7 separate regions of the Homo sapiens genome follow, and all the other regions are linked to region 5. The links are contacts of gene promoters, found by promoter capture Hi-C in blood cells and fetal thymus (Javierre and others, 2016). All regions are on one chromosome and are shown on one strand. The core of a region is centred on a gene start or on the middle of the fragment in contact, and the rest is flanking DNA. Distances in the headings are between cores, read along the strand shown. Region 1 has its middle 78 kb from the start of LINC02890. Region 2 has its middle 39 kb from the start of LINC02890. Region 3 has its middle 45 kb from the start of CDR2-DT. Region 4 holds the start of USP31 (ubiquitin specific peptidase 31). Region 5 holds the start of LDAF1 (lipid droplet assembly factor 1). Region 6 has its middle 19 kb from the start of LINC02890. Region 7 has its middle 57 kb from the start of LINC02890.

Evidence for each region. The method cuts DNA at HindIII sites, captures the fragments that hold promoters and counts their contacts. A CHiCAGO score of 5 or more calls a contact.
Region 1: a contact is called between a fragment that was not itself captured here and the fragment with the promoter of LDAF1 in region 5, in 13 of 17 cell types (naive B cells, total CD4 T cells, total B cells and 10 more). The highest score is 14.1, in naive B cells.
Region 2: a fragment that was not itself captured here is called in contact with the fragment with the promoter of LDAF1 in region 5 in 12 of 17 cell types (naive B cells, total CD4 T cells, monocytes and 9 more); the score reaches 16.4 in naive B cells.
Region 3: a contact is called between a fragment that was not itself captured here and the fragment with the promoter of LDAF1 in region 5, in 5 of 17 cell types (erythroblasts, non-activated CD4 T cells, total B cells and 2 more). The highest score is 11.1, in erythroblasts.
Region 4: the fragment with the promoter of USP31 here is called in contact with the fragment with the promoter of LDAF1 in region 5 in 5 of 17 cell types (activated CD4 T cells, total CD8 T cells, total CD4 T cells and 2 more); the score reaches 10.9 in activated CD4 T cells.
Region 6: a fragment that was not itself captured here is called in contact with the fragment with the promoter of LDAF1 in region 5 in 7 of 17 cell types (naive B cells, total CD4 T cells, total CD8 T cells and 4 more); the score reaches 8.8 in naive B cells.
Region 7: a fragment that was not itself captured here is called in contact with the fragment with the promoter of LDAF1 in region 5 in 12 of 17 cell types (naive B cells, megakaryocytes, erythroblasts and 9 more); the score reaches 17.4 in naive B cells.

Annotation. Positions count from the first base shown.
Region 1 is chr16:22,689,051-22,693,138 of GRCh38, reverse strand. No RefSeq gene overlaps it. Among named protein-coding and RNA genes, the nearest start is that of LINC02890, 78 kb to the right of the region's middle. The HindIII fragment of the contact is 6,669 bases long and covers 1-4,088 here.
Region 2 is chr16:22,650,354-22,654,433 of GRCh38, reverse strand. No RefSeq gene overlaps it. Among named protein-coding and RNA genes, the nearest start is that of LINC02890, 39 kb to the right of the region's middle. The HindIII fragment of the contact is 6,772 bases long and covers 1-4,080 here.
Region 3 is chr16:22,417,844-22,422,137 of GRCh38, reverse strand. It overlaps the pseudogene RRN3P3. Among named protein-coding and RNA genes, the nearest start is that of CDR2-DT, 45 kb to the right of the region's middle. The HindIII fragment of the contact is 2,788 bases long and covers 448-3,235 here.
Region 4 is chr16:23,147,190-23,151,474 of GRCh38, reverse strand. USP31 (ubiquitin specific peptidase 31) reads left to right here and starts at 2,023. Exons shown (of 16, transcript NM_020718.4): 1 at 2,023-2,837. The coding sequence starts at 2,205. RefSeq lists an enhancer at 1,623-1,842 and silencers at 2,023-2,122, 2,273-2,322, 2,423-2,522, 2,653-2,882. The HindIII fragment of the contact is 4,661 bases long and covers 1-4,285 here.
Region 5 is chr16:21,156,959-21,160,761 of GRCh38, reverse strand. It overlaps LDAF1 (lipid droplet assembly factor 1), which reads right to left and starts at 2,088. Exons shown (of 5, transcript NM_001301771.2): 1 at 2,016-2,088. It also overlaps a transcript of DNAH3 not described here. RefSeq lists enhancers at 807-956, 1,091-1,591 and silencers at 1,849-2,028, 2,079-2,208. The HindIII fragment of the contact is 5,830 bases long and covers 205-3,803 here.
Region 6 is chr16:22,630,361-22,634,199 of GRCh38, reverse strand. No RefSeq gene overlaps it. Among named protein-coding and RNA genes, the nearest start is that of LINC02890, 19 kb to the right of the region's middle. The HindIII fragment of the contact is 1,649 bases long and covers 1,138-2,786 here.
Region 7 is chr16:22,667,910-22,672,267 of GRCh38, reverse strand. No RefSeq gene overlaps it. Among named protein-coding and RNA genes, the nearest start is that of LINC02890, 57 kb to the right of the region's middle. The HindIII fragment of the contact is 7,075 bases long and covers 1-4,358 here.

The sequences.
Region 1 (4,088 bases), core at 1,090-3,589, 1.5 Mb before region 5:
GCCCCACTCTTGTGTAATTCCCTCCCCGCTTGTGTGTGGGCTTTATTTAGTGGCCGACTTCTAGCAAGCAGAATGCAGAAGAGGAGAGATGTCACTTCTGGAATTAGATTACAAAGAGATGGCATCTTCCGTCTGGAGCACTCTCTCACTCTCACTCCAAGGGAAGCCAGCTGCCATGTTGTGAGCTGTCCAAGGATCCCAGTGACAAAGAACTGAGGAAGTCCTCTGGCCAGCAGTCAGCAAGAAACCGAGACCCTAGACCCTTAGCTCCAACAGCCTACAAATAACTGAAACCTTCCAAAAACCATGGGAGGGAGCCTAGAAGCAGATTCTCCCCAGCTGAGACTTCACATGAGACCACAGCTCCAGCATGTACTCTGACTGCAACCTGGTAAGAGACTTTGAGGTCTGACTGCAACCTGGTAAGCAACCTCAAGCCAGAGATACACAGGAAAGCCATGCCCAAATTCCTAACCCACAGAAACTGAGACAATAAATGTTTGCTGTTTCAAGCTGCTAAGTTGTGGAGTGATTGGTTATGCTGCAATAGTTAGTGAGTGCATCTACTCTGTGCCTAACACTTCCTAGATGTTAGGAATAAGACTTGGTCCCTGACGTCTGAGCATTTATAGGGGAAACAATGATATAAACAAATGATTCCAGCACAACATGGCCCAGGGTGGAGAATTGCACTAGTGGGCAACTGTAATGGAGGGAAACCAGAAAATATTCACAGAGGAGGTGAAATTTGGTTTGCATCTTGAAGGATGAATCAAAGCTAGCTAGACGGATGAAGGGGAATGGATAGTCAAAGCAAAGAGAACAGATACATGCCAAAGTACAGAAGATGAAACAGCAATTAAATATTTGTGGTTGAGTGTAGCTGACAGTAGAGACAACCAAGTAATGGAAAATCTTGCATGCTTTGCAAAAACCTCTGAACTTTCAAAAGACTGTCATGTACAATACATACTTGATTTATTTGAGAAGCTGCACTCTTTAGAAGTCATTTTTAGGTCAGAGGTCACAAGCTGGCATCCCTTGGAGAATATGGCCAGCACACATGCTTCTTTGGCCCTCAAAGTTATTTTACTAGTTTGAATTAGTTATTAACATTTAACAAATAAGAGATTTCAGATGAAGATCCACATTTCCAGCTTTGATTAAAATATCAGAAGATCCCAACAGGTGTGGGGATCACACCTCATTCAAGCTCAGGAGTTCAAGAACAGCCTGGGCAACATAGCAAGCTCTTGTCTCTACTAAAAAAAAAAAAAATTAATAAGCCAGGCATGGTGGTGCATGCCTATAGTCCCAACTACTCCAAAGGCTGACTCAGGAGAATCACTTGAGCCTGAGAAGTTGAGGCTGCAGTGAGCTGTGATCATGCCACTGCACTCTAACCTGAGCAACAGAGTGAGGCCCATCTTAAAAGAAAATATCAGAAGATCTAAACACTGGGATAGCGTTTCCATGTAGCAGTTGGCTGGAGTGAAATGGTAGCTGTCCCTTTTAGACAGAACATGCACACTCTACCAGAGTTCCCATCTGGCCAACTGAAGGGATTTGACTTTGCATCTCCTGCACAGAGAAGATAAATGTGTACTCAATATAAACATCGCATCTGTGAAGGGATGCATTGGTGAACTCCCATCACCTCAGCAAATGAGTGACCGCTTGGAAGGATCAAACAGAAAAAGTATTGATTTTGGGCAGTGATTCCTAGACTTTAATGTGCACACAAATCACCTGGGGTCTTGTTAAAATACAAATTCTGGTGCAGTAGGTCATAGTGAAGCCTGAGATCATGCATTTCTAACAAGCTCCCAGATGATACTAATGCTGCTGGTCCCAGGACCACACTTTGAGTAGCAAAGGGCCAGGGGGCCTTGGCATTGCACTCTACCCTGAGAGTCAGGGTTCTTCTGGGACTACAGCTTATCCTGTCTGCTGAAACAGAGCCTCTTCTAATTGGAGTCAGCCCTGGATTGGGGCTGGCATGGGGATGGAAGTTGAGAGAAGACAAAATAATCAGTGTGCTATTCCTTCCAGAGTTTTGTAGAACTTGTGGAAAGTAAAGTGACATTTATTGACATCTTTCATGTGTTCCAGGTTATCTCAATCAACATGCACACACACCACCACCACCACCACCAATGACAACAACATCTATAAGGTAAGAAGAGAGAAAGGGTAAGAAAGTGCACTCTAGAGCCGAACTGCCTGGGTTCATATCCCAGTTCTGCCATTTATTAGCTGTGTGACTTTAAATGTTACTAACAGCTCTCTGCCTCAGTTTCCCATCACCAAAATTGGGGATCATAATAGTACCTACCTCATAAGCTGCCGTGAAGATTAAGTGATGACACATGGATAGTGCTCAGGACAGTGTCTGGCATCTAGAAAGTGCCCAACAAATATTTGCTATTAATAATATCCCTTCCTTGTGAATGAAGAAAACAAGGCTAGCAGAAGTTAATTAATGTGGGCAGAGATTAAGTAGGGGGGCCAGTTTTTGTCTTTCCAATGACCTTAAGGAGTAAGGCACATGAAGGCCCAAGTGAGACCATATCTGGAGAGAAAAACAGTCCATACCCTTCCTTGAGGCCCTTTTCTATCCCATTCTCCAGTTTAGTCTTGTCTCGGAGACACTGGCTTATGGTAATAATTATAACACGTAAAAGTTATTGAATGTATACATCATCTCATTTAATTCTCACAACAATTTTGTGATGTAGGCACTACTGCATTGTTATTCCTCAATTTTGCAGATGCATGTTCCCCAAGCTCACATACTTGGCAAGTTCCAATTCTGTATAAAGTCATCCAGAAAATAGGACAGGGAAGAATACTCCCCAGCTGACTCTATAAGACCACTATCACCCTACCATTAAAATCAGACAAAGATATTACAGGAAAAGAAGGCTGCAGATGGATATTCTTCATGACTATACATGTAAAACTGCAAAACAAAATATTAGCACATTGAATCCCACAATACGTAAAAAGGATAATACATTATGATGAGTAGTGCTTCATCCCAGAAATGCAAGGTTGGTTTAACATTCAAAAACAAATCAAGTAGTTTACCAAATTCACAAACTAAAAAAGAAAAAAAAATTATCTCAATAGATGCAAAAAACTCGTTTGCAAATATTTAACAACATTCGTTTCTAATAAAAATTTTCAGCAATGTAGAACCTGAAGAGAACATTTTCAACTATGTAGCATCTTCAAATAACCTATAGCAAACATCATAATGAAAGAATAAGTGCTTTCCTCTGAGGATAAGAACAAGGCAAGTATGTTCACTATCACTGCTTCTATTCAACATTGTACTAAAGGTTCTAACCAGTGCAGTAGTGCAAAGAAAAAAGTGGCATTCAGATAGGAAAGAAGTAAAACTCTCTTTCTTCACAGATGATGTGGTCATCTATGCAGAATATCTGATAGAAGCAACAAATAAGCTACTAGAACCAATAATTGAGTTTAGTGAAGTTGCAGGATACAATCTCAAGATACAAAAACCTATTATATATCTATATGATGCCAATAAACAACCAGAAATTGAAATTAATAAACAATACCATTCACAATAACATCAAAAATATTAAATACTTAGAGATAAATCTGGCAAAAGATGTGAAAAACTTATACTATGAAAATTACTAACTACTGCCAAGAGAAGTTAAATACCAAAATAGGCCAGGCATGGTGGCTCATGCCTGTAAACCCAGCACTTTGGGAGACCGAGGCAGGTGGATTACTTGAAGTCAGGAGTTCAAGACCAGCCTGGCCAACATAGTAAAACCCCATCTGTACTAAAAATACTAAAATTAGCTGAGTGTGGTGGTGCATGCCTGTAATCCCAGCTACTCAGGAGGCTGAGGCAGGAGAATTGCTTTAACTTGGGAGGCAGAGGTTGAAGTGAGCCCAGATGGAGTGCACCACTGTACTCCAGCCTGGGCAACAGAGATACCATCGCAATAAATAAATAAATTAAATAAATAAATAAATAAATAAATAAAATGTTGGTCTTGAACCTATACTTATAGGTTCAAGAAAACTCAATATTGTTAAGATGGTGT
Region 2 (4,080 bases), core at 1,093-3,592, 1.5 Mb before region 5:
ATCCCACACAAGAGTTAGCAAGAATGTGGAATACAGAACTCTCACACTCTGTTGATAGGACAGTAAACTGCCACAACCTTATTCACACATGGCAGTGTAAAAAATGTGCACCGTGTTTGTTATAGCATTGTTTATAATAGCTACCGAAAAAAATAAAACAACCCAAATTTGTCTTAGTTCAGGCTGCTATAACAAAATATCATAAACTGGGTAGCTTATAAACAACAGAAATGTATTGCTCACGGTTCTGGGGGCTGGAAGTCTGAGATCAGGGTGCCAGCATGGTCGGGTTCTGGTAAGGGCTCTCTTCCGGATTGCGGGTGGCTACCTTCTTGCTGTATCCTTACATGGGGGAATGAGGGAAAGAAAGCTCCCAGGGGCTGTTTGTGTAATGGCACTAACTCCATTCATGAGGCTTCACCCTCGTGACCTAATCACTTCCCAAAGGATCTACCTTCTAATACTATCAAATCGGGAGTTAGGATTTCAACATTTCAATTTGGGGGACAAGGGACACAAACATTCAGTCTACATGTAAAAAATTATAAATAATGGCACTTTTTTTTTTTTGAGATGGAATCTTGCTCTGTTGCCCAGGCTGGAGTGCAAAGGCATGATCTTGGCTCACTGCAACCTCTGCCTCCCGGGTTCAAGCGATTCTCCTGTCTCAGCCTCCCGAGTAGCTGGGACTAAGGCACGCACCATCACTCCCGGCTAAATTTTGTATTTTTAGTAGAGTCAGGGCTTCACCATGTTGGTCAGGCTGGTCTCGAACTCCTGACCTCATGTGATCCACCCACCTCCGCCTCCCAAAGTGCTGGGATTACAGGCATGAGCCACCATGCCCCACCAGTACATTTATACAATGAATGAGCTAGATCTACTTGTATCAACATGGATAATCTCAAAAACAGAAGGCTAAATGAACAAAAGCCAGTTCCACAGGAACACACCTAGAATAAAACCAGTTATGGAATTTTAAAGAACATACAAGATAATATGTAGCTAAATATTGATGGATACTTATAAAAGTGGTAGGGATATGAAACATATATTGGAAAGATAAATACCAACTTCAAAATAGTCCTTATCTCTGGTTTTTGCAATTTATAGGGGATGGAAAAAGGAAGAGAAGAAAACCCAGGAGGGGTACAAAAAGTGTCACTGTAACCTATAAGATTTTATTATTTTTTTTTTAATAAAATGATTTGAAAAACAAACGTCTTTGCATTCCTAGGCTAAATCCTCCTTGGTCATGGTTAGTGACTCTATTAATGTATTATTGAATTCTGTTTGCTATTATTTTATTTATAGTTTTTCATCTAGTGCCTTGGTCTTCTGTTCTATTTTTTTTCCACTATACTCTTCAAGATTGAATTTCAGGGTTGTATCGTTCTCGTAAAATGAATTAGAAAGTTTTCCATGGTTTTCTATAATCTGGAACCATTCATTGAGTATAGGAATAAATTTGTCACCAGAAAATTTGAAGAGAACAAATACATTAGAAAAATCTGTTTAAGGAGGCTATTTTAAAATGACCATTTGATAATACTTTAACTTTTCTATTTTTATTTATTTTATTTTTTAAAGAGATGGGGTCTTATTCTGTCACCCAGGCTGGAGTGCAGTGGTGTGATCATAGCTCACTGCATCTTCAAACTCCTGGTCTCAAGGGATCCTACCACCTCAGCCTCCGAAGTAGCTGGAAATACAGGTGCACACCTCCAAGCCCAGATAGTTTTTTATTTTTTGTAAAGATCAGGATCTCACAATATTGCCCAGGATGGTCTCAGACTCCTGGCCTCAAGCAATCCTCCCACCTCGGCCTCCCAAAAAGTTGCTGGGATTACAGGTGTGAGCCAGCATGCCCAAGCACTTTTTATTTTTGTATATTTTTTTTATTCCAGACATTACTTTTTCATAATTCAATTTTTGTAATTCATATTTTATTAAAAATATCTGCATCATTGAATCATTTGTATTTCCTTACATAGAGTCACACTGTAACATCTTGGTGATTTTTTTTTTTTTTTTTTTTTTTGAGGCAGAGCCTCTCTCTGTTACCCAGGCTGGAGTGCAATGACACAATCTCGGCTCGCTGCAACTCCGCCTCCCGGGTTCAAGCGATTCTCTTGTCTCAGCCTCTGGAGTAGCTGGGATTACAAGCATATGCCACCACACCCGGCTAATTTTTGTATTTTTAGTAGAGATGGGGTTTCACCGTGTTGGCCAGGCTGGTCTCGAACTCCTGACCTCAGGTGATCCACCTGCCTCGGCCTCCCAAAGTGCTGAGATTACAGGCGTGAGCCACTGCACCCAGCCCCTCCTGACATATTCTAAGTTGGGCCTAAGGTTTCTCCGCACTTAGTGAACTGTAACCTAACTGGATGTGTCAATAGTCTGTAATCTACTCTTGTGCCAATCACCAAGTTTCGGCCAATCACAGGCAACCAACTGTTCAAACTGTGTTCAAATATGGCAAATGCCAAGCTGTGACCAAGCCAGCTGTTTCTGCACCTCACCTCCCTTTTCTGTCCATAAATCCTCTCCAACCACACGGCAGTGCAGGAGTCTCTCTGAAAAGGAGGACTGCCCTATTCTCAAATTGTTCTTTGCTCAGTTAAACTCTGTTAAATTTCATTTGTCTAAACTTCTTCTGGGCCAAGCATGGTGTTTCACACCTGTAATCCCAGCACTTTGAGAGGCTGAGGCAGGAGGATTGCTTGAGACCAGGAGTTCAAGACCAGCCTGGGCAACATAATGAGACCCCATCACTAAAAAATATTTTTAAGTCAGCTGGGGTGCGGTGGTGAGCACCTGTAGTCCTAGCTACTTGGGAGGATGAGGTGGGAGGATCACCTGAGCCCAGGGAGATTGAGGCTGCAATGAGCTGTGATTGTGCCACTGCACTCCAGCCTGGGCGACAGAATGATACCCTGTCTCAAAAAAATATACACCATGGAATACTATGCAGCCATAAAAAAGAATGAGTTCATGTCCTTTATAGGGACATGGATGAAGCTGGAAACCATCATTCTGAGCAAACTATCGCAAGGACAGAAAACCAAACACCACATGTTCTCACTCATAGGTGGGAATTGAACAATAAGAACACATGGACACAGGGTGGGGAACATCACACATTGGGGCCTGCCAGGGGGTGGGGGGAGCGGGGAGTGATAGCATTAGGAGATATACCTAATGTAAATGACGAGTTAACGGGTACAGCACACCAACATGGCACATGTATACATATGTAACAAACCTGCACATTGTGCACATGTACCCTAGAACTTAAAGTAAAATAAATAAATAAATAGGAAAAAAAAGAAAAAAAAAGAAGGCAAAGAAAAAAATAAAAATAAAATAAAATAAAATAAAGTTCTTTAAACACCATGAAACAGACCTTGACAAGACATGCATATCCCCTTATGCCTACCCCAAGATTTAGGATGTCACACTGTACCTGTCCTTTGCGGTAATTTGTCTTAAGGACACAGGTACAAGTTATCCTGTTTTATATGCACTTTAATGAATTTTCACTTCAAATTCAAGTTGCAGTATATGTCACATGCCGCCTTCCCTTCAAAGTAACTAATGTCAACAATTTACTATGTATTTTTTCCATGTTTTTCCTGAGTTCATGCAAGCATCATACATGAAAACCAGATGAAAGGTTTTCTTTCTTTCTTTTTTTTTTTTTCAGAAATAGGATGATATTACACAAATGTGCTTCTTTACTTAACAAGAAAGTATAGGCATCTCTCCATATACCTGGCTTTTTTCAACAGTTGCATAAAATTCTGAAACATAAAACATTATAATTTATTCAATAAATCCCTGCTTTTGGATATTAATTTTGTTTCCAGATTTTTGCAAGAATCAGGTACTTAAAGTAATAAACATTTTTCTGTGGAATTGGTACTTCCATTTCTGCATGCCAAAAGTGAAATTTCTGAGCATAAGTATATTTTGAATTCCAGTAGCTACTTTCAGATTTTTCTTGAATGGTTAAAGCAATTCTTACTCATAACAGCAAAGTATGAGAGTCCTTTCTTCCTCCATACAATCATAAGTGAT
Region 3 (4,294 bases), core at 592-3,091, 1.3 Mb before region 5:
CTTTGTAAATTACCCAGTCTCGGGTATGGCTTTATCAGCAGCATGAAAACAGACAAATATACTGTTGTTTCTTATTAAATGTTATTGGCTTATTTTGAAAACAAAAGCTTACCAAATACATGTGATTATGGGAAGGGGCCAGAAAGTTACACTGCAAGTAAAAATATCAGTAACTATGTTTACTGGGTGGCGATGGCAAAAACAATAGTTTTTCCTTTTTTTTTTTTTGGAGACAGGATCTTGCTCTGTCGCCCAGGCTACAGTGCAGTGGTGCAATCACAGCCCACTGCAGCCTCGACCTCCGGAGCTCAATTGATCCTCCCACCTCAGCCTCCTGAGTAGCTGCATCTACAGATGTGAGCCACCAAAAAAAAAAAAAAAATTATTTTTGACACAGGATCTAGCACTGTTGCCCAGGCTGAAGTGCATCTGGGCTCACTGCAAGCTTCTCCTGAGCTCAAACCACCCTCTCACCTTAGCCTCCCAAGTAGCTGGGACTAGAGCCTCACTCCACCACGCCCGGCCTTGTTTTTCCTTTGTGAACATCGTTCTACAATGCTGTGGGTACATCGCTTTTTCAATATGAAGTTTTCTTTGGAAGTTTATAAATCCAGTTTGGGCCTTGGAGGAAAGCAGTCAGTGATAGAAATTTTGTGACTCTGAGTGAGTTTGGTGGAGCTTCGAGTTGTAGATTGTTTCCCAGGGACCGCTGCAGACACAAAGCCCTGACTGCAGGATCCCCAGTGATAAAAGTGATCAAAGGCGAGTGTGATCAGACGTGCGCTGCAACGCGAGTTGAGGTTTCATCGAGCCTCATTCAGTGGCTCCTGGGGCAGTTGTGTGGATGAAGAGGGCCATGTCTGTGAAGTGCTCAGGATGGAGCTGGTGGTGGGGCGGCCATGCCGGCCACATGGCTCACACCCCTCACCCGTCAACTCGGTGCCCGGCATTTTCCTTAGCTCCTCTGTGGATTAATTCTCATTCTGAAGACGGGAGGCTGAGGTTTCATCTCAGCTCTGTTCCTGGCTCATTGCTGCGCTTCTCTGTACCCGTCCCCTCCCCTGACTAGGGGAATGAGAACCTTGCCTATGGAAACACTTAGGGGATGGTGGCCCGTGACTCCATGCCAGCCCCTCCCAAGCCCAGCCACCAGCTGAGGTCCTGACCACCTTGTGGACCACCCGGTCCTCCAGCCCTGCGCCCACCCCCGCGTCCTCCCTCCTGCTCTTTCGTAGTTCCCTTGTGTTTCTCTGTGCCAGTAGCTGAGCCCCCGTGCCCACCCACTGCAACTGCACCTTCCCTCCCTCCAGGCTTCCCCACTGCGTTGCTCCCCTGCAGGGGCCAGTGAGTGGCTCTAGCTGTGTTCAGACAGCTCTGTGCCTCCTCCTCCCACCCCAGTTCCTCCGCCTTGGAGACAGACGGGGGTGCAGCGGGGCTGAATGGCACTCCAAGCTCGTGGGGCTGGGGAGTCCACATCTGCACCCGCCGCGTGGCTAGCACCCCCTGAGCGTTTTGGTCAATTTGCCATCATCCCACCCCTCAGTGCCGTTGGTGGTTGCCTGACGAAAAGCTGCACTTAATAGAAATCACTGTGGATGCAGGAGATGGACGGTGATGAGCTCAGGACCAGCCAGCAACCCCATCAGGCGGTAATGCCTACCATGGTCACCCATGACTTCCTCTCGCCACTGCTCGGAGCTCCTGCAAAGCCACAGGCAACAACACATTTCTGCTCCGTACGAGAAGCTCCTATTGTAAGTCGGTGACATGGCTGGGGTTTTCTCTCAGCAAATATTGAGCAAACACTGACTGTGCCAGGTGATGTGCTGGGTCCCAAACCCTTCCCAGACCCAGCCCTGGCACTCACGGAGATCCAGCTAGGAAGTCCGGGAAAAGGTCATCGGGGAAATAAACAAAGTCAAGCACAGTGGATGAACGCGCTGCTGCCGCTCCCCACACCTCTTGTGGTGGACATCACTTACGCTTCCTCATGGTGCATGTCACTTATGCTTCCTGGTGCCCTCCCAGATGACCCCCCCTTGGGCCACTACACACAGCTGCACCCGGCAAGAGCAGACAAGGATGGTCTACTCACTGAGCCTGCAAGGCTGGTGTGCAGGACAGGCCAGCTACACTCCCCAGGTGTGTGCAAGACCGGGGACGAGTCAGTCATTGGGAGGTGAGGTGCTCGGGCAGTGTGGGATGGAGGAGGAGGGAGGGAAACTGAGTGTGGGCTCTTCGTATTGGAGAGGAGGGGACGGCCATGGCACAAAGACTCAGATGGGAAAGTGTGAGAAAGCAGAGATTTCAAAGGAGCTACGGTGGAGACCCACAGAAGAGGAATGCTGAGGCTTTTCTGTCTGAAATGCTGAATAGACTCTAGCACACGCAAAACAGCCCACCACAGCGAGCTGCAGGATTCTTCCGGGCTTTTAACAGTGGTCTTGTAAAAAAAATTAGCCGGGCATGGTTGTCCCAGCTACTCAGGAGGCAGAGAGGGGAGGATGGCTTGCGCCCAGGAGGTTGAGGCTGCAGTGAGCCATGATCGCACCACTGCACTCCAGCCTGGGTGACAGAATGAGACCCCTGACTCAAAAAAAAAAAAAAAAAAAAAAAAAAAAAAGACTGGAACATTCAAAACCTGTTGATGGGCTCAAGAAATTCTCAAGAAATTCTCTTGCCTCAGCCTCCTGAGTAGCTGGAACTACAGGTGTGCACCACCACATGTGGCTAATTTGTGTATTTTTTGTAGAGACAGGGTCTTACCATGTTGCCCAGTCTGGCCTTGAACTCCTGGACTCAAGGGATCCAATGACAGGCGAGAGCCACCATGCCCAGCCACATTTTTGCTAAATTCTTTACACTGGTGAATCTCAAAGAATTCTCTGATCATCACACCATATCCTGCTAAGTGTGCAATTAACCTGTGGACTTCAGTTGGACACTTTCAGATTAGCATTAGCTATGTGGGGCCACCAAATGCCAACTGTTAAATTATCACTCAAAGATAAATGACACTTGAGTGTGCTGTTTGAGTTTATACCTCTAAAAAATGCTTATAGTACCATGAGACTAGTGTGCCAACGTGTCTGGCTGCCAACGTGTCTATAGCTGAGCCAATAAGAATTAGTCTCTAGAGCCTCTGTTTCCAAGGAAGTCAATCTCTAGATTCCCACATTGGCTGCATGATGGAATAAGCCAGGGGCTACGAAAAATACTGATGCCTGTTGAAGCTTGGAGGAGCTGGGGTTGGGGTGTAGGGCAGTGATGATCACATATGAATAGAACTGGGAGTCTTTAGTGTTACTGGTGGCAATGTTGAAATGCATGAGGGTTGTTTATTGTATAATGAAGTATTTTTCACATGAAGTCATATGAAGTATTCCATTCCACTGTATTTGTTCTTATTTTAACGATACAACTAGGTAATAAAGGAAATGAAGTATTGTTTTATATTTTAAAAAAACACATATGCCTGGATCTCACGCCCCAGACATTCTGATTTAACTGGTCTAGGGTATGGTCTGGGCATCAGGACTTTTTCAGGCTCCAAGTGATTCTAATGTGCAACAAGGTTGAGAACTATTGCTTTAGGGCCTTCGTGTTCTTTGAGAATACAAAGAAAATTCAGAGAGATAGGTTAAAAACACACTTGCCATTCCTCCATTGCTCTGACATCTATCAGCAAATAAGCTATAACAGGAAATACAGGGCTTTGGGTCTTTTCTATTCCAGATTCTGTTCCTGTCCTCTTTTAGCCACCAGGGTTTTAATTTTATTTATTTATTTATTTATTTATTTATTTATTTATTTGAGACAGAGTCTCGCTCTATTGCCCAGGCTGGAGTGCAGTGGCGTGATCTTGGCTCACTGTGACTTCTGCCTCCCGGGTTCCAATGATTCTCTTGCCTCAGCCTGCTGAGTAGCTGGGATTATAGGCACGCACCACCTCGCCCGGCTAATTTTTGTATTTTTAGTAGAGACAGGGTTCCACCATGTTGGCCAGGGTGGTCTCAAACTCCTGACCTCAGGTGATCTGCCTGCCTCAGCCTCCCAAAGTTCTGGGATTACAGACATGAGTCACAGAGCCCAGCCTAATGACTGATTGATTGATTGTGACACAGGCTCTCACTCTGTTGCCCAGGCTGGAGTACAGTAGTGAGATCATAGCTCACAACAGCCTCGAATTCCTGGGCTCAAGTGATACTCCTACCTCAGCCTCCCAAGTAGCTGGGACTATGGGCATGTGCCACCACTCCCGGCTAATTTTTTTTTTTTTTTTTGAGACAGAGTC
Region 4 (4,285 bases), core at 774-3,273, 2.0 Mb before region 5:
GCTTGAACCCAGGAGATGGGGGTTGCAGGTGAGCTGAGATCCCGCCACTGCACTCCAGCCTGGTTGTTAGAGTGAGACTCCATCACACACACATACACACACACACACACACACACACACACACACACACACACGACATTGTTTAGGTATAAAGTTGCCAAATAATCAACCTGTTATATAATGGCTACCTTACTGGGTACCGAATAATGAGTAAGATGGGTCTCTACTGGGTTGAAGCCCACATATTAGTGAAGGTGATGATTGTAAACTGAATTGCAATATGGTCAAGTCAGTGTCATGAATGAGAGGTGCCAAGAGGGCCTGTGGAAGGGACATCTCCTGGAGGGGGTGATATCTAAGGTGGGACTTTAAGGATGAGGGGAAGTTAGCTAAGTAGAAAGGTTCTAAGTTAGCTAAGGAAAGGTTCAAGGGAGAGGGAACGGCTCCAGCAAAGGCCCTCGAGTCTAGATCAAACTGCCCAGAAGTTGAGGGCCATTGCATTCACATTTTAGTGTGAATAATCAGATGGCTTTCTTCCTGGTGTCCAGATAAGAATTTTGACTAAGAGGAGAGTGGAGCCGATTAGGGACAGTGCAGAGCACCCTGGAGATGTCATCATAGAGCCCTACTTACATTGGGGAGGGAGGTCAAAGGTAAAAACCATTTACTTTGAAACGTGGTGTAAGGTGGCCTTCATGTTTTAAAAAGGAGGAAGGGCTCTCCCTTCTCTGATTTCTCTCTTCTGCCTCAGGACTCAGACTAGCCCTTTTAGCAGAGGGGAGCCTATAGAGAGGAGGTCATATACTAGTTGATTTTGGACTAAAGGCATCCCAAAGATGTACTATTTTTTGCTCCCTGCACTATTTTTTTTTTAATGGAACCAACGTTTAAAAATAGGATTTCTGCCTTCTCTTAAAACATCAGATGATCTGGTAACGCTGAGCTCCTGTTCTCACATGGGAACAACTGGCTGGAGCTGAGTGGCAGCCACCTCTTTAGAAAGATGTTAATTTGAAGTCTGCTATAGTCCCCATCATTCCTTATATTTCCCCCAACACTGAGACCCAAGTCACTTGAAAGTCAATATGATGATTCAAACACCAGGATTCTTCACTCATTTGTGGGTTTGTGACCTGTGATATTTGTGGATTCGTGACCTTTGGTTTAGAGGTCAAGTATAGGGGTTGTAAATAAAACTTGGGTTTGAATCAGATAAGAACTGTACCAATCTCAAAGACGGTGAATTAAAGATTAAAGAAAATATTGCATGCTTGGCATAATGTGTGGAACACAACAGCTATTGTAAACACCCAGTAGGAATGTAAGCTGCAAGAGGGCAGGTAGAAACCGTGCTAATTTAATCCGCTGGGGATATGACATTTGATTCTAATTTAATAGGTTTAATTCTTTGCAATATCCCCAGTAACTGCTGAATGAATGAGTGAGTGAATGAATGAATGGAATGATGAATGATGGGAGAGCCCGGAGGAGTTTTAAAGGCTGGAATGAAAAGGAAAGTAGTTATGATAACAGCGTTTCGCTGGGACTCCAAGGTGCAGCCAGGAAGAAAAGCCCGCTGGGACGTGCCAGGGTCTGTGACTGCGCTCCGCTGGCACCCAGAGGGTAGGTATCTGCAACGTCCCTTGGGAGCCAGACAGGGCTGACTTGCCCAGGACCTGTCAGGGCCATGTCCACCAGCTCTTGCACGGTCTGGTAACTGACAGCATCCTGATTCCTGCACGTTCCCGCCTCTGCCATCTGACCAGCAAAGACAGAGACCCACCCCGGGGATCCACCATCCAACGGGAGCCCAGCCTTTTCCTCCAAGCCGGGACGGCGCCCACACTAGACATGGCCTCCCTCGGGCTTCACGCAGCAGGACCGCGCCCGCAGCCTCCAGGCATCGCGTCCGGCTGGAGAGGCAGCTACCGTCCCACAGTGAACATGGCGGCCGAGGCGGCTTCAGCGCCGGGCGGGCGGCGCCGGGAGGCACGTCACGTGAGCGGCTCAGCTGGGCGGACCGCGCGCGCGCCCGCTGGCCCCGCCGGCCGCCGCTCGCTCGCTGGCTCGGCTGCGCTTTGAGGTGTGTGGGGCGTCGAGCCCCCGGGCCCGGTGAGGCGCGGCGCTGCGGGATGCGGCGGCGGCCGTGGCGGGGCCGCGGGCCGGGCGGGCGGGCGCGGTGATGAGTGTCTGCGGCCGCCGCCATGTCCAAGGTAACGGCGCCTGGGTCCGGGCCGCCGGCGGCGGCGAGCGGGAAGGAGAAGCGCTCCTTCAGCAAGCGGCTGTTTCGGAGCGGCCGCGCTGGCGGCGGCGGCGCGGGGGGCCCCGGGGCGTCCGGGCCGGCCGCGCCTTCCTCGCCCTCCTCGCCCTCCTCTGCACGCTCGGTGGGCAGCTTCATGAGCCGCGTTCTCAAGACGCTGTCCACGCTCTCGCACCTTAGCTCTGAGGGCGCCGCCCCAGACCGCGGCGGCCTCCGCAGCTGCTTCCCGCCCGGGCCGGCCGCCGCGCCCACGCCGCCGCCGTGCCCGCCGCCGCCCGCCTCTCCCGCGCCGCCCGCTTGCGCCGCCGAGCCGGTGCCCGGCGTGGCGGGGCTCCGCAACCACGGCAACACGTGCTTCATGAACGCCACGCTGCAGTGCCTCAGCAACACCGAGCTCTTCGCCGAGTACCTGGCGCTGGGCCAGTACCGGGCGGGGCGGCCCGAGCCCTCGCCTGACCCGGAGCAGCCTGCGGGCCGCGGCGCGCAGGGCCAGGGCGAGGTCACTGAGCAGCTGGCGCACCTGGTGCGGGCCCTCTGGACCCTGGAGTACACCCCGCAGCACAGCCGCGACTTCAAGGTGAGCCCGCGCGCCGCCGCGCCCCCACTGCACCCCGAGCCCCTGGGGCACCTGCCCGCCCAGGTCTTCCTTCCCTCGGTTCCTCTTGGCCCGGCAGGCTTCTGCATTGGTTGCTCCGAGTGGTCTGGGCAGTCGACCAGTGATTTTAAGGAGATTCATTCATTCATTCATTTATTCACTCACTCACTCACTCAAACATGTATTTATTGAGAACTTACTACATACGTGCCCATACTCTGTGATAATAGGCAATGGGAGTGACGTTGCAATGAACAAGACTATCCGCCTTCATGGAACTTGCATTTTTGTGGGGTGGGAGTGTTGAGCATGGGTTCAAATCCTGGTTCTGCCACTTACTAGCAATGTGACGTCGGGTAAGTTAAGCAGCCTCTCTGTTCTTACAGTTTCTTCATCTGGGGGACCTACTTTGTAAGGTGGTTGTGAGCTGCAAACAAGTTAATATATTAAATCGAACACTGTGGAATTACCCATATTTAACCGTTTTTTATTTACAGATTGGCACTTTTATAGGGTTCAACCTGATAAGTAAAATACTTCCATATCATGTGTATTTGCTGCTATTATTTTTGTTATTAAAGACTTGAAGAAGTTAACGAGATAATATCAGATAGTGGTTTGAAGAAAGAAAAACCTGCTGCTGTGATTGATGTGCTGACAGGCTACTTTTTATTTTTATTTTATTTTTAGAGACAGGGTCTTGCTCTGTTGCCCAGGCTGGAGTGCAGTGCTCACATAGCCTCAAACTCCTGGGCTCAAGCAATCCTCCCGCCTCACCTTCCAGAGTATTTAATAGCTGGGACTACAGACACACACCACCATACCTACCTATTTTTTATTTTTAAAACACTTTTGTAGAGACGGGGGTTTTGCTGTGTTGCCCAGACTGGTCTTGAACTCTTGTCCTCAAGCCACTCTCCCCGCTTTGGCCTCCCAAAGTGCTGGGATTACAGGGGTGAGCTATACATCCCTGGGGGTATGTATGGCCCTTGGCCAAGCCCTCCTTTGCTGTTTGCTGGTGGGGCTGCAAGTGTAGTGAGAGGGTGAGATTTGAGAGCCGAGTGGTGGGCTGGGACCGGATGGTATGGGACCATTTAGGATGCACTAAGAAATTGGGCGGTTACTCTAAGCAGAAGGGGAACATGATGTGAGATTGTGTAAGGGATACTTTCAGGTGGGACATGAATATGGTATTAAACAGCATGGAATCGGGCGGGGCGCAGTGGCTCATGCCTGTAATCCTAGCACTTTGGGAGGCCAAGGCGGGTGGATCACCTGAGGTCCGGGGGTTCGAGACCAGCCTGACCAACATGGAGAAACCCCATCTCTACTAAAAATACAAAATTAGACGGGCGTGGTGGTTCATGCCTGTTATCCTGGCTACTCAGGAGGCTGAGGCAGGAGAATTGCTTGAACCTGGGAGGCGGACG
Region 5 (3,803 bases), core at 839-3,338:
TCATTAAAATGATAGTGTGACTGTTTAGTGATGTGAAAAGATGTGTATGATACTTTTAAAAAAAGATGATAAAATGTTAATAGTATTATCTCTGACAGCTTATGTTTATTTTTTAGCTTGACAAAATGCTGAAAATATACAGAAAGCAAGAAAGCTGAACACACTATTTCAAATCTCATTGCCTTTTATTCTCCCTAGAAAGCTTTCCTTGTACAACAGTAGCCTTGACCTGTTTCTCTTCTTTATTACTGTACAGGTTGGCTCCCAATTCCATCATTCCATACATCATCATCTACTTACTTGTGGGTAAGTCTATCCCTGCTAAGGAGAACTGCACCTCGGGGGCAGACCTCACCACAGTAATTATACTCTAACTAAACTGCCTGGAATTTTGAGGGGTGTCCCAATCTCATACAATTTTTACTTATTTTTAATAAAGGCAATTGGTTAAATTAGATATATTTTTTAACCCTTGTTGAGTTTTCAAATATAAAAAAAAAATCATTCTTATTTTATATTTCCCAGAACTGGCTGGACACAGAGATATCTTTTCCATTTCTCCCTTTAAACTGACCTGACCTACAGTACAAATGCTTAAAAGATTGTGTCCACGTGGCCAAAATTAATTGAGAGATCCTCACATTTATTTATCATATAGGGGGTAATTTTATCTACTACTAAGCTGTACAGGGTCTAGTATGCAAATTAAAGCACATTTTAATCATCCCAGCTAGACATCCTCTGCTACTTCCCTTTTGTAAAACAAGAAACCCTTTGGAGGGGAAAGTTGAGGAGGGGACTAATCCCACCACCCCACATTCTCTCTTTGAAGCTGCCTCTGGCGTAGGTCTTGAACTTGGGATGTTCCCAGCACTCAGTTCCCATAATCTCATCTCTGCAGCAAGCAGAAACAAGCGGAGTTCCCCTTACAGGTCTCCTTTGGCCTGGGAGCCTCAAGTGCCACCCAGACCGGTTTGGGGAGTCCGATGAGAGAGTGCGTGGGGCGAATGCCATCGGCCACAGCCTTCAAATGCGTCTACCTGGCCACCAATTCCCAGACCCCCTGGTCACTCACTCCTCGGAGGGGCCTCCCCAGGCACGGAGCTGTCTCCCGAGAAGGGAAAGCGAGAACCCGGCGCGGCCAAGGAGTGCCCCGCCTTCTTCACGCCTGGGGGACTGGGCCAGGCCAACACCAGCTAACCCTTTCCCCTTCCAAGGCTCCAAATAAATCTCCTGGCCCTCCCACCCCCGAACCTCCAGGGGAAAACGGCTACCTCGAAAGTTCAAGCTGGGAGGAGGGGTCACATCTCTGGTTGGGGGATGGGAGCTACAGGGCGCCTCGAGCTCACACTGGCCGCCCCTCCCCATCCGGGCCCAGCCTTTCAGCGTTCAAAAGCCAGGGAGACCCAAGGAGAGGAGGAAGGGAGTGAAATGCAGGTGGAGAGGGGGTCCGCGTCCCAGAAGGCACAGAGACTGAATAATGGGAACTCAGAGGGGAGTCGAGTACTTAGTTATTAATTTGGGGGTAAAGAAGCCCCCTTTGATACTTGCAGATCTCTCTGCAGCGATGGGGAAGGGGACCTCGGTGGAGAAGAGGGGCTGGGTGGTGAGGAAGGCGCCCGTTTTCAATAATCCTAGGGAGGTTTGCCTCGACGTCTTCCCCAGGTTCCCCAGAAAGGGGCACAGTCTCGGGGTGTGGTGGTGCTAGCTACCATTTTACCTAATCTAGTGGTAGTGTGTGTGTGTATGTGTGTGTGTGTTGGGGGGTGGCGGGGTGAGTGTGCATTTAGGGGTGGGGAGGAATCGTGTCTCCTCGTGCGCTCCCAGCCCCGTCCCGGCGACTCATAAGCAGGAGACGCCCCTTACACTAACCCCGGGGCAGAAAGCTACGGGCGTGGGACCCCGATAGCGCGCTCACGCCGTCGCCCCCGCGCTCCTCCTCTGTCCCCGCCCGGCGAGAGGGGTCTAGCCACCCGGGGCACCCGGACCCCCACCCCCAAGCTCCGAGCTCTCACCTGCTCCTGACCGCCGAGCAGCCCCCACCGCGTTTGCAGGCGAAGCGAAGAGAGGCAGGAGGAGGAACAAGAGGAAGAAGGAAAGAGCGTCCCGAGAGGGAGCCAGAGCCGCCTGCCTCCGCCCCCTGGCCCGGGCACCGCCCCTCGGCTCTTCTCCTCTGGGCTCGCCCCGCCCGTGGCCGGAAGGATCCGGCAAAGGCGCGCCAAGGCCCGGCGCCCAAGGCTTTGCAAAGCGCGCTCGCTCCCACTGGCTTTCGGAGCCACTAGAACAAGCCCTGAGAGGTTGACAGCTGAGGAAACTGAGGCTCAGAGAGTGTCCCTTCCCACACGACTGGCTTGGAGTGAGAAAGCTCAGACCACCTTCAAGACAGGCAGACTGGCAGCCGAGAATGAGTTTTCCAAGGGTGTCAGGGTTTCCCCTCCTGTATGCCTAAAACCAGCTGCTCTGGAACGTCTCTGGCGCTCAAGACACACACGTGATGAAGTATCACCCTGGCTGGAAGTTTTTAACCATGACTGCTCAAATGCGAATGTCATAAGCCAGTGAGATCCTTTCAGATGGATTGGATGTCCATTTTACACATGAAAAAGTCCAGGCTGAGAGAGACAAGATAAATCAATCCAAATTCCTCGGTTTGCATGGATCCAAGTCGGAGCAGGAGCCCCTGTTTCCCCTGGCCCCAAATCTGCCCTATAGAGTAAGGTTTCTGAATAGTATGCTATTGACATTTGGGGCGGAATAATTCTGTTTCTGAGCTGTGGATTGTAGAATGTTTAGCAATATCCTAGCCTCTACCCATTAGATGCCAGTTACAAGAACCGCCCCCCCCCACCTCCAGTTGTGTCTCAAAATATTGCCAAATGTCCCCTGGAAGGCCCCATCGTCCCGAGGTGAGAACCACTGCTATAGAGCATGATGGCAACTTACTGTGTGACTAAGTAACCTCTCTGAACCATGGCTTCAACCATAAATTAGAGAGAGGGATAAGCCCAACCATTGGTCTGCTGTTGCACAGTTCTCAGCCACTTTCCAGACAGGGACCTGTGTTGACCGACCTCTCCTCTTTGCCTGTGGCCATAGCAACCTGGAAAATAAGTCTTTAGATAACAAAAAGCTGGCAGGGTGCGGTGGCTCACACCTATAATCCCAGCACTTTGGGAGGCTGAGGTGGGCAGATCACTTGAGGCCAGGAGTTCCAGACCAGCCTGGCCAACATGGTGAAACCCCATCTCTACTAAAAATATAAAAACTAGCCAGGCATGGTGGTGCGCACCTGTAATCCCAGCTACTCGGGAGGCTGAGGCAGAAGTATCGCTTGAACCTGGGAAGTAGAAGTTGCAGTGAAGACACTGCACTCCAGCCTGGGCAACAGAGTGAGACCCTGTCTCAAAAAAAAAAAAAAAAAAAAAGAAGCAATCACAGGGTTGTAGTGAGGACTGGTGCAATAGTGTGGCTGTGGCTGTCGAGAACTTAGCACCTATTGAGGCACAGAGTAGGGGCTCAAAAATATTTGCTTGGGATGATGATTTATGATGATGATCACGACAATGATATGATAAACCACAGAATCCTGCTGTAATTCCACAATAGCAGAAAGAAGAGCTAATGGTGGGGATAGGACAGACAAGAATCCCTAAATTCTTAAGTTTTAGCCAATCTTGTCTGGCGTCATGCACTTTGTTCAGCTGCAAAATGCTGGGTTCCCCACCCAGGAAAAGATTGTGTGTGTGTGTGTGTGTGTGTGTGTGTTTCCTTAGATTACAGCCTTCCAATCATCATTCCCTAAA
Region 6 (3,839 bases), core at 713-3,212, 1.5 Mb before region 5:
ATTCAAATTAATCACATGGACAGGCATAAAACACCAGACTCTAAATATTATTTACCCAGCATCAAGCAGATGTTTGTTTCCAAAGCTACAATCTCCTCTAATTGGCTGATGCTGTGCTGCATAGACTCCAATGCAAGCTTATGTTCTATAATGAATGACAAATGCCTAGAAGAATCCTCTGTGAATTGGCAGCCTCCTCCTCTAGCATGCAAATTATGCCGAAATCCCATCAGCAGACGCAGATAAGCTCATCTGCATGATTGGCAAACTAGTGGATAAACACACCCCAGGATTCATTGTCCAAATTCAATTTGGTGGTTTCATCTCCATTTTCAGTGATCATTTATTTGTTAATTTATTCATTAGCCAACATGATGAAGCAGCTATTCGGAAACAGGCACTGTCTTAGGCTTTAGGAATACAAAGGTAAATAAAGATATGGTCTCTTCCTTCAAGAAGTCCACAATGAAGGAAGTGAGACGAGGCCGGGAAAGAAAACGAACTAGGAACAAGTACAAAAATAGAGATATGGGCAAATGTCAGTGGTGATACAGAGGAGGGGTGATCAACTCTACCTACAGGGGTTGGAGATGGTGCCACAGATTTTCATGGTGTAGCTTAGAGGAAGATGTTAGCTAGACAGACAAACTGTAGAAAGGGGGGTTTCCATCAAGAGTGTTCTCTTGCTGTTGCAAGAACACTTGACGACGTGCGTCCTGTTCTGGGAACCACAGGAGTTTTATCTGGCTAAAGCAGAAGGTGCCAGTGTCTGTTCTATTTTGGCTCCTTTAAAAATCCACCCAAGGCCAGCTGTTGTGGCTCATGCCTGTAATCCCAACACTTTGGGAGGCCGAGGTGAGAGGATCGCTTGAGGCCAGGAGTTTAGGACCAGCCTGGGCAACATAGCAAGACATCCCCATCTCTACAAAACATAAAAAATTAGCTAAGCATGGTGAGGTGTGCCTGTAGGCCCAGCTACAGGGAGGCTGAGGCAAGAGAATCCCTTAAGCCCAGGAATTCAAGGCTACAATGAGCTACGATCTCACGTCACTGCACTCCAGCATGAGTGACAAAGTGAGATCCTGTCTCTAAATAAATAAATAATTTTTTAAATTAAATAAGTATAAATAAAAAGCTTTTAAAAATAAAATCCACCCAGGTGGACATGTAAACTGCACAACCCCTTTGAAAGGCAGCATGGCTATGTCTATTGAAATTTAAAATGTGCCTGTCTCTGTAATAATTACGGAGGCAATGGATTCAGGTCCTCATGGCCCAGTTAGTTTTTCTCTGTCTCACAAGCATAATTATACATTTCCTCCACAAAATGTGCGATCACGAGGGAAAAAAAAAATCTTGGATGGGTTAACAGAGGTTCATATTCATTATGGAAATACATTACGATTGTGTTTTCTTTCCAAGGTCTGTTGTCCTAACAAGATCTTAAGCATTGTGAGAAGAAAGGCTGTGCCTGTTCTGTGAATCCTGTTATCAGCAGTGCCTAAGATAATGCCACCACACAAGACCTTAGCAAATATTTAGTACAGACATACATACTTGGATAACTAAATGAATGAATAAAACATCTCAAAGCCTAAATCTACAAAAATTTTAAAAAATAATAAAATGCTTATGTCTTGTTTGTAGTAGCAAAAGATCAGGGAAAAGTGATCTATAAGAGACTAGTTAAAAAAATTATAGCACATCTATGTAAAGAAATACTATGTAAATTAAATACTATGTAAAAAGGCATGAGTTAGCCGGGTGCTGTGGCTCACACCTGTAATCCCAGCACTTTGGGAGGCCAAGGCAGGTGGATCACTTGAGGTCAGGAGTTCAAGACCAGCCTGGCCAACATGGTGAAACCCCATCTCTACTAAAAGTACAAAAATTAGCCAGGCGTGGTGGCACGTGCCTGTAATCCCAGCCACTCAGGAGGCTGAGGCAATAGAATCACTTGAACCCAGGAGGCAGAGGTTGCAGTGAGCTGAGATTGTGCCACTGCACTCCAGCCTGGGCCACAGAGCAAGACTCTGTCTCCAAAAAAAAAAAAAAAAAATAGCATGAGTATACACTCTCTATAGTTATAGAAGATTTATGGTTATGGGAAGAGCTCCAAGATATATTATCAAGTGAAAAAAAGTGAAATAAAGAAGAATATATATATATATATATATATATATATATATATAGTATGGTATCTTTTGTGTAAGAAAGAAGAGAAAATAGGAATACATGTTCTTCTTTGCTTTGTTTTCATAAAGGAACTGTGGAGGTATACACAACAAATTAATATCTACAGGGGTGAGAGAAGGGAAAATAGATTAGGAAAAAGATGGGGGAAAGACTTTGTGACATATATCTTGCATATCATTTTTTATTTTTGAATTAACTAAATGTGTGACCTATTCAAAAAGGAGAACTTAATTTTAACATGGGCCTGCCTCATGGCCCAGAAATTTCAGTCTTGGTATCAACCATAGAGAATCACTCACACATGTGCATAAGGAGGTATATAGAAGGATATTTGTTGTAGTACTGCTTATTATAGAGGAAAACACAGTAGAAATAACCAAAATGTCCATTAGTGGAGTTACAGAATAAACTGTGGCACGTTCATACTTTGAATATTATGCAGGAGTTAAAACCACGAGGTAGATGTATGTCTACTAACATGGACAAATCTCCAAGATTTACTATTGCGTAAGAAAAATCGAGAATGGTGATTGTCAGGGGCAAGGGGAGGGGAAAGCGATGGGCAGATGTAGGTCAAAGGGTACAAAGCTTCAGTTAGGAATAAGTTCAGGAGATCCATTGCATAGCATGGTGACTATAGTTAATAATAACGTATTGTAAGCAAGGTGTAGTGACTCACGGCTGTAATCCTAGCCCTTTAGGAGGCCGAGGTGGGCAGATAGCTTGAGTTCAGGAGTTCGAGAGCAGCCTGGCCAACATGGTGAAACCTCATCTCTACAAAAAATACAAAACTTAGCCTGGTATAGTGGCGTGCGCCTGTAATCCCAGCTACTTGGGAGGCTGAGACATGAGAATCACTTGAACTGGGGAGGGGGAGGTTGCAGTGAGCTGAGATGGTACCACTGCACTCCAGCCTGGGCAACAGAGCAAGACTCTGTCCAAAGTAATAATAATAATAATTAATAATAATAATAATAATAATGTATTGTATACTTGAAAATTGCTAAGAGTAGATTTTTTTTTTTGAGACAGAGTCTCACTCTGTTGCCCAGGCTGGAGTGCAGTGGTGTGATCTCGGCTCACTGCAACCTCAGCCTCCTTGGTTCAAGTGATTCTTCTGCCTCAGCCTCCTGAGTAGCTGGGACTACAGGTGCACCACGACACCCTGCTAATTTTTTGTATTTTTAGTAGAAATGGGGTTTCACCATGTTAGCCAGGATGGTCTCTATCTCCTGACCTCAGGTGATCTGCCTGCCTTGGCCTCCCAAAGTGCTGGGATTACAGGTGTAAGCCACCACGCCCAGGCTAAGAATAGATTTTAAATGTTCTCACAACAAAAAAAAATAAGTCTGTGAGGTGGTAAATATGTTAATTAGGTTGATTTAGCCATCCCACAATGTATACATATATCAAAACATCACACTGTACACCATAAACATACAATTTTTTTTCTGTGACAAGGTCTCTCTCTGTCGCCCAGGCTAGAGTGCAGTGGCACAATCATCACTCACTGCAGCTTTGAACTCCTGGGCTTAAGCGATTCTCCAGACTCAGCCTCCTGAGTAGCTGGCACCACAGGCACATGCCACCATGCCCAGCTACTTTTTGTATTTTTTGTAGAGACAAGGTCTCACCATGTTGCC
Region 7 (4,358 bases), core at 1,547-4,046, 1.5 Mb before region 5:
TATCCCAAGTGCAACAGGAAGCCATTGAAGGATTTTCAGATCCACACCTTGCAAGGATGACTTCGGTTGCTCGGTGGAGAATGGATTGCAACAGCCTCACCGTGAAAGCAGGAGGAAAGGGGCTGAGGAGGTGACTGCAGTGGTCCAGGCAAGAGATGAAGCAGTGATGCTGCTGGAGACGGAGAGAAGAGGACAGAATCCAGAAATATTTTGGAGAAGAAAAATCAAGAGTCATTGGTATGGAATCGAATGTGGGGTGGGGATAGGATGAAGGAAAGGAGGTGACAAGGATGACTCCCAGACTTTTGACTGAGCTGCTCCTTCTCTGCAGTGATGGCCTCCTCGTTTTGGGCCACTAAGGGCTTCTCCAACCACTGGGAAGCACTTCCAGAACAAGGTCCTCATTTCCTTTTCAGCTCTCACAGCAGGGACTGGCAAACTTCCATAAAGAACAACATAAAAAATATTTTAGATTTCAAAAGCTGTACCATCTTTGTCTCAATGACTCAACTCTGCTGCTATAAAGCAAAAGCAGCCACAAGTAATATGTAAACAAATTATTGTGGCTGTGTTCCAATAAAACTTTATTTAAAAAAAAACAAGTGATGGACAGGATTTGGCCCTCCAACTGCAGTTTGCAGACCCCTGCCCTAGAGGACTGGGAGGAATCTGGAAACTAAGCTGAACTCCTACATTCCCCAGGCCTGAAGAACTGGAGTATTCCATTGAAATAAGAGTACTTATTCCCAGGCCCGGAAGCCTGAGACCTTCCCCCAGAAATACAGCAGGGGGCCGAGGACTGTAGTGTACCCAAGACCCCACAAAAGACCTAGGGTCAATGGGAGAATCCCAGAGGTGTTACTAGGCTGATGAAATAGACCTCCAACTTCCCCTGGGCTTCCTCAGGTCCCCAACACCATCCAGAAAGGAAATTCAGCACAAATCTTTCATATACTCATACATACTCATCTGAACTTATAGCAGAATAAAAAATAAATAATAATAAAAAAAAACCAGAAGGGTATATAAGAAACAAGTAAGTGCTTACATATAAGCCTGAGGGTGAGAATGGGATGTGAATGAGACTGTCACGTGTATATATTTTTGCATCATGTTGAGTTCTGAACTACATGAATATATTACTCAAGTATTCTCTACTCAAAAAAATAGTAAATTTCTTCATAAAACGCACAGAAATGTATCTAGTTCTTGCCATTAGATTTTTTTTAACTATTGAAAAAGCTCTATATTTATCCTTGAAATTACACAGGGGGCCGATTTGAAGCACAGCTGCATTGCACATGAAACGGCAGTGTGTCCTGGTGACAAATTAATAGAAGTCCCTTTTTCTGGTTTGCTTCTCAGGTCTGCTCTCTCGTTACTAGTAGTCTACTTGCAGCTTCTCCTCTTGTTTTAAACAACTCCCCTTCCTCAGGCAACAGCACCCACCCTCACGCTGGGGAACCTCCCTCCCTCATTCAAAACTGTCGGGTGGGACTGTCAATCAAGAGGCTCTCTGCCTGCCCAGGCATGGTCATGTGACCCAGGCTAAACCAATCAGATTAGCTCTCCCTAGAATAGGCCTGGAGGTGCCCCCCAGGCCCCATTCCGGAGAAACGTGGTAAGGTACCTTAATGGGTTTTCAGTTAGTTCCTGTTGCCTAGATCTTTGAGGCAGCCTTTTCAAAAGAGCTTTCTTTCTATTTTAGCTTTTGTTTTTTTGGCTTAAGTTGGCCAGAATCCATTTTTGTGGCTTGATACTGATGCAGTCAGTGATCCTGCATAAAACTCTCCAGTGCATCCTTGTGGCCTACAACACAAAGGGCAGACAGGACAGACAAGTCCCAATGTGCACAACTGTGGCTCAGCTTCCCCACTTTCCAAGCCCCTGCCTCCCCACTGCCCTATCCCCCCAGCCACCTGCCGCTTCAGTCACATGGAATTCCTGCTCTTTCTCCCAAAGCATGGCATAGATTTCTCTGCTGTATTCCCGCTTCCTCACCTGAAAAATTCCCTACCGATCACTCGAGGCAGTGGATTGCAGTGGATCAGAGTGCGAGTTCTGCTTGGGCAGAATGGCCGTTGGTGATTGCTTTTTCTTAAGTCCTGCTCTCCAAATGTAAGATTGGTCAGTCTCTCCTTCCCTGGAGACGCACGCTAGAATCTACCAGGACTCTGGGGCCAGTTCCTGAGCCCATTACAAGGATCCAGGATGACAGTGATTTTTTTTTTGAGACGGAGTCTTGCTCTGTTGCCTAGGCTGGAGGGCAGTAGCACGACCTCGTCTCACTGCAACCTCCAACTCCCAAGTTCAAGAGATTCTCTTGCCTCAGCATCCCATGTAGCTGGGATTACAGGTATCCGCCACCACACCTGGCTAATTTTTGTATTTTTAGTAGAGACGGGATTTCACCATGTCAGCCAGGTTGGTCTCGAACTCCTGGCCTCAGGTGATCTGCCCACCTCAGCTTCCCAAAGTGCTGGGATTACAGGTGTAAGCCACCGCACCTTGCCCACAGCACTGAATTTAAACATGTTTCTGCCAGTTGACCTTGGACAAAGTGCTTGCTTCATATCCTCAGAGGAGCTTGGTTTGCTTATCTTTGGATGTGAATTCTACCAACTTCACAGCGCGGGTTTATTTATTTAACAAACTCTCTGCACCAGACACTGTTCTAGGTGCTTTACACATATTCGTTGATTTAATACTCGTAATACTCGTAACAACACTATAAGGCAGGTACTATTTGTGTCCCCATTTTGCAGATGAGGAAACTCAGCACAGAGAGGTTGTTAGTTGTCTAAGGTTGCAAAGCTAGTATGGGATGAAATGAAAGACTGCATGGGAATTACTTAGCACAGACAGGAGATAATAAATGTTCCATCAAATTGTAGCTATTTGTTATAGACTAAATTATTGCCCCTCATTCATATGCTGAAATCCTAACCCCCAATGTGAGATATGGCCTGCAAAGGGGTAATTAAGGTTAAATGAAGTCATAAGGGTGGGGCCTAATCCAATAGGATTGGTGTCCTAATAAGAAGAGGAAGAGACACCAGGGATGGGTGTGCACAGAGAAAAGGGCATGTAAGGATGTAGCAAGAAGGTGCCGCCTGCAACCCAGGGAGAGAGGCCTCAAGAGAAAGCAAACTTGCCAACATCTTGATCTTGGACTTCCAGCCTCCAGAACTGTGAGATGTAAATTTCTGTTCTTTCCGCTACACAGCCTGTGGAATTTCATTACGGCAACCCTAGCAAACTCACACACTATTGAAGAAAATATCACTTTGTGGTGGAAATCACAGTTGTTTTTTAAACGTACATCTGACAATGTTACCCCAGGAAGTAAACCCCTTCAGCAACTCCTGTACCATTTCCTGGGAGGAAATTGGGACCAGATCCTCTAAGATGGGCTTATACTATGGCCAAGCCTGGAAGAAGACAGGAACTAAGGCATCCCCAGAGGGTAGAAAAGAGGAATCATAACCAACACAGGATAGCCTGATGTTTAAAAGCATAGGCTCACACTGGGTATAGTGGCTCACCCATAATCCCAGCTATTTAAGAAGCTGAGGCAGGAGGATCGCTTGAGCCCAGGAGTTCAAGATCAACCTGGGCAACATACTGAGACCCCTGTCTCTAAAAAAATAAGGCATGGGCTCTGGAGCCAGACTTCCTGGGTTCAAATCCTGGCCCTGCTACTTACTAATTTTGAGGTTGGCAAGTTACTTAGGTTCTGCATGCCTTGGTTTTCCCCTCTGAGAAATGGGGACAATGATAGTATGTGTCTGATGGTTTTATTATAAGTGTTAAATGAATTAATATAATTAAAGTGTTTTGCATGAGTGCTGGGCACTTAGAGCCATATGGGTGCTAGCTGTTACCATTGATAGTTTTGTGGCTACGAAACCACTATTATAACCAAAGTCTTTCTCTCTGCTCGAGATTCAAATCCTAGGTTGAAAGCCTCAGAGAATCCCAGATCAATTCTCCTATTACTGTCCTATGAATCTGCATCAAATAGAAAAGAGCTTATTCCTCAAAAGGAAACTAAAAGAGCCTAGAAATAAATCCACACACAAATGATCAAATGACTTTCAACAAGTGGACAATGTAATTCAAGAAGAAAAGGACAATCTTCAACACATGGTGTTAGAACAGTTGGATACATATATGCTGCTGAGGCGGGAGGATCGCTTGAGGCCAAGAGTTCAAGACCAGCCTGAGCAACATAGCAAGACCTAAAAAGATCTCTAAAAAACATTTTTTTTAATTAGCTGAGCATGGTGGTGTTGCACATCTGTAGTACCAGCTACTCAGGAGAGGCTGAGGCAGGAGGATTGCTTAAGCCCAGAAGT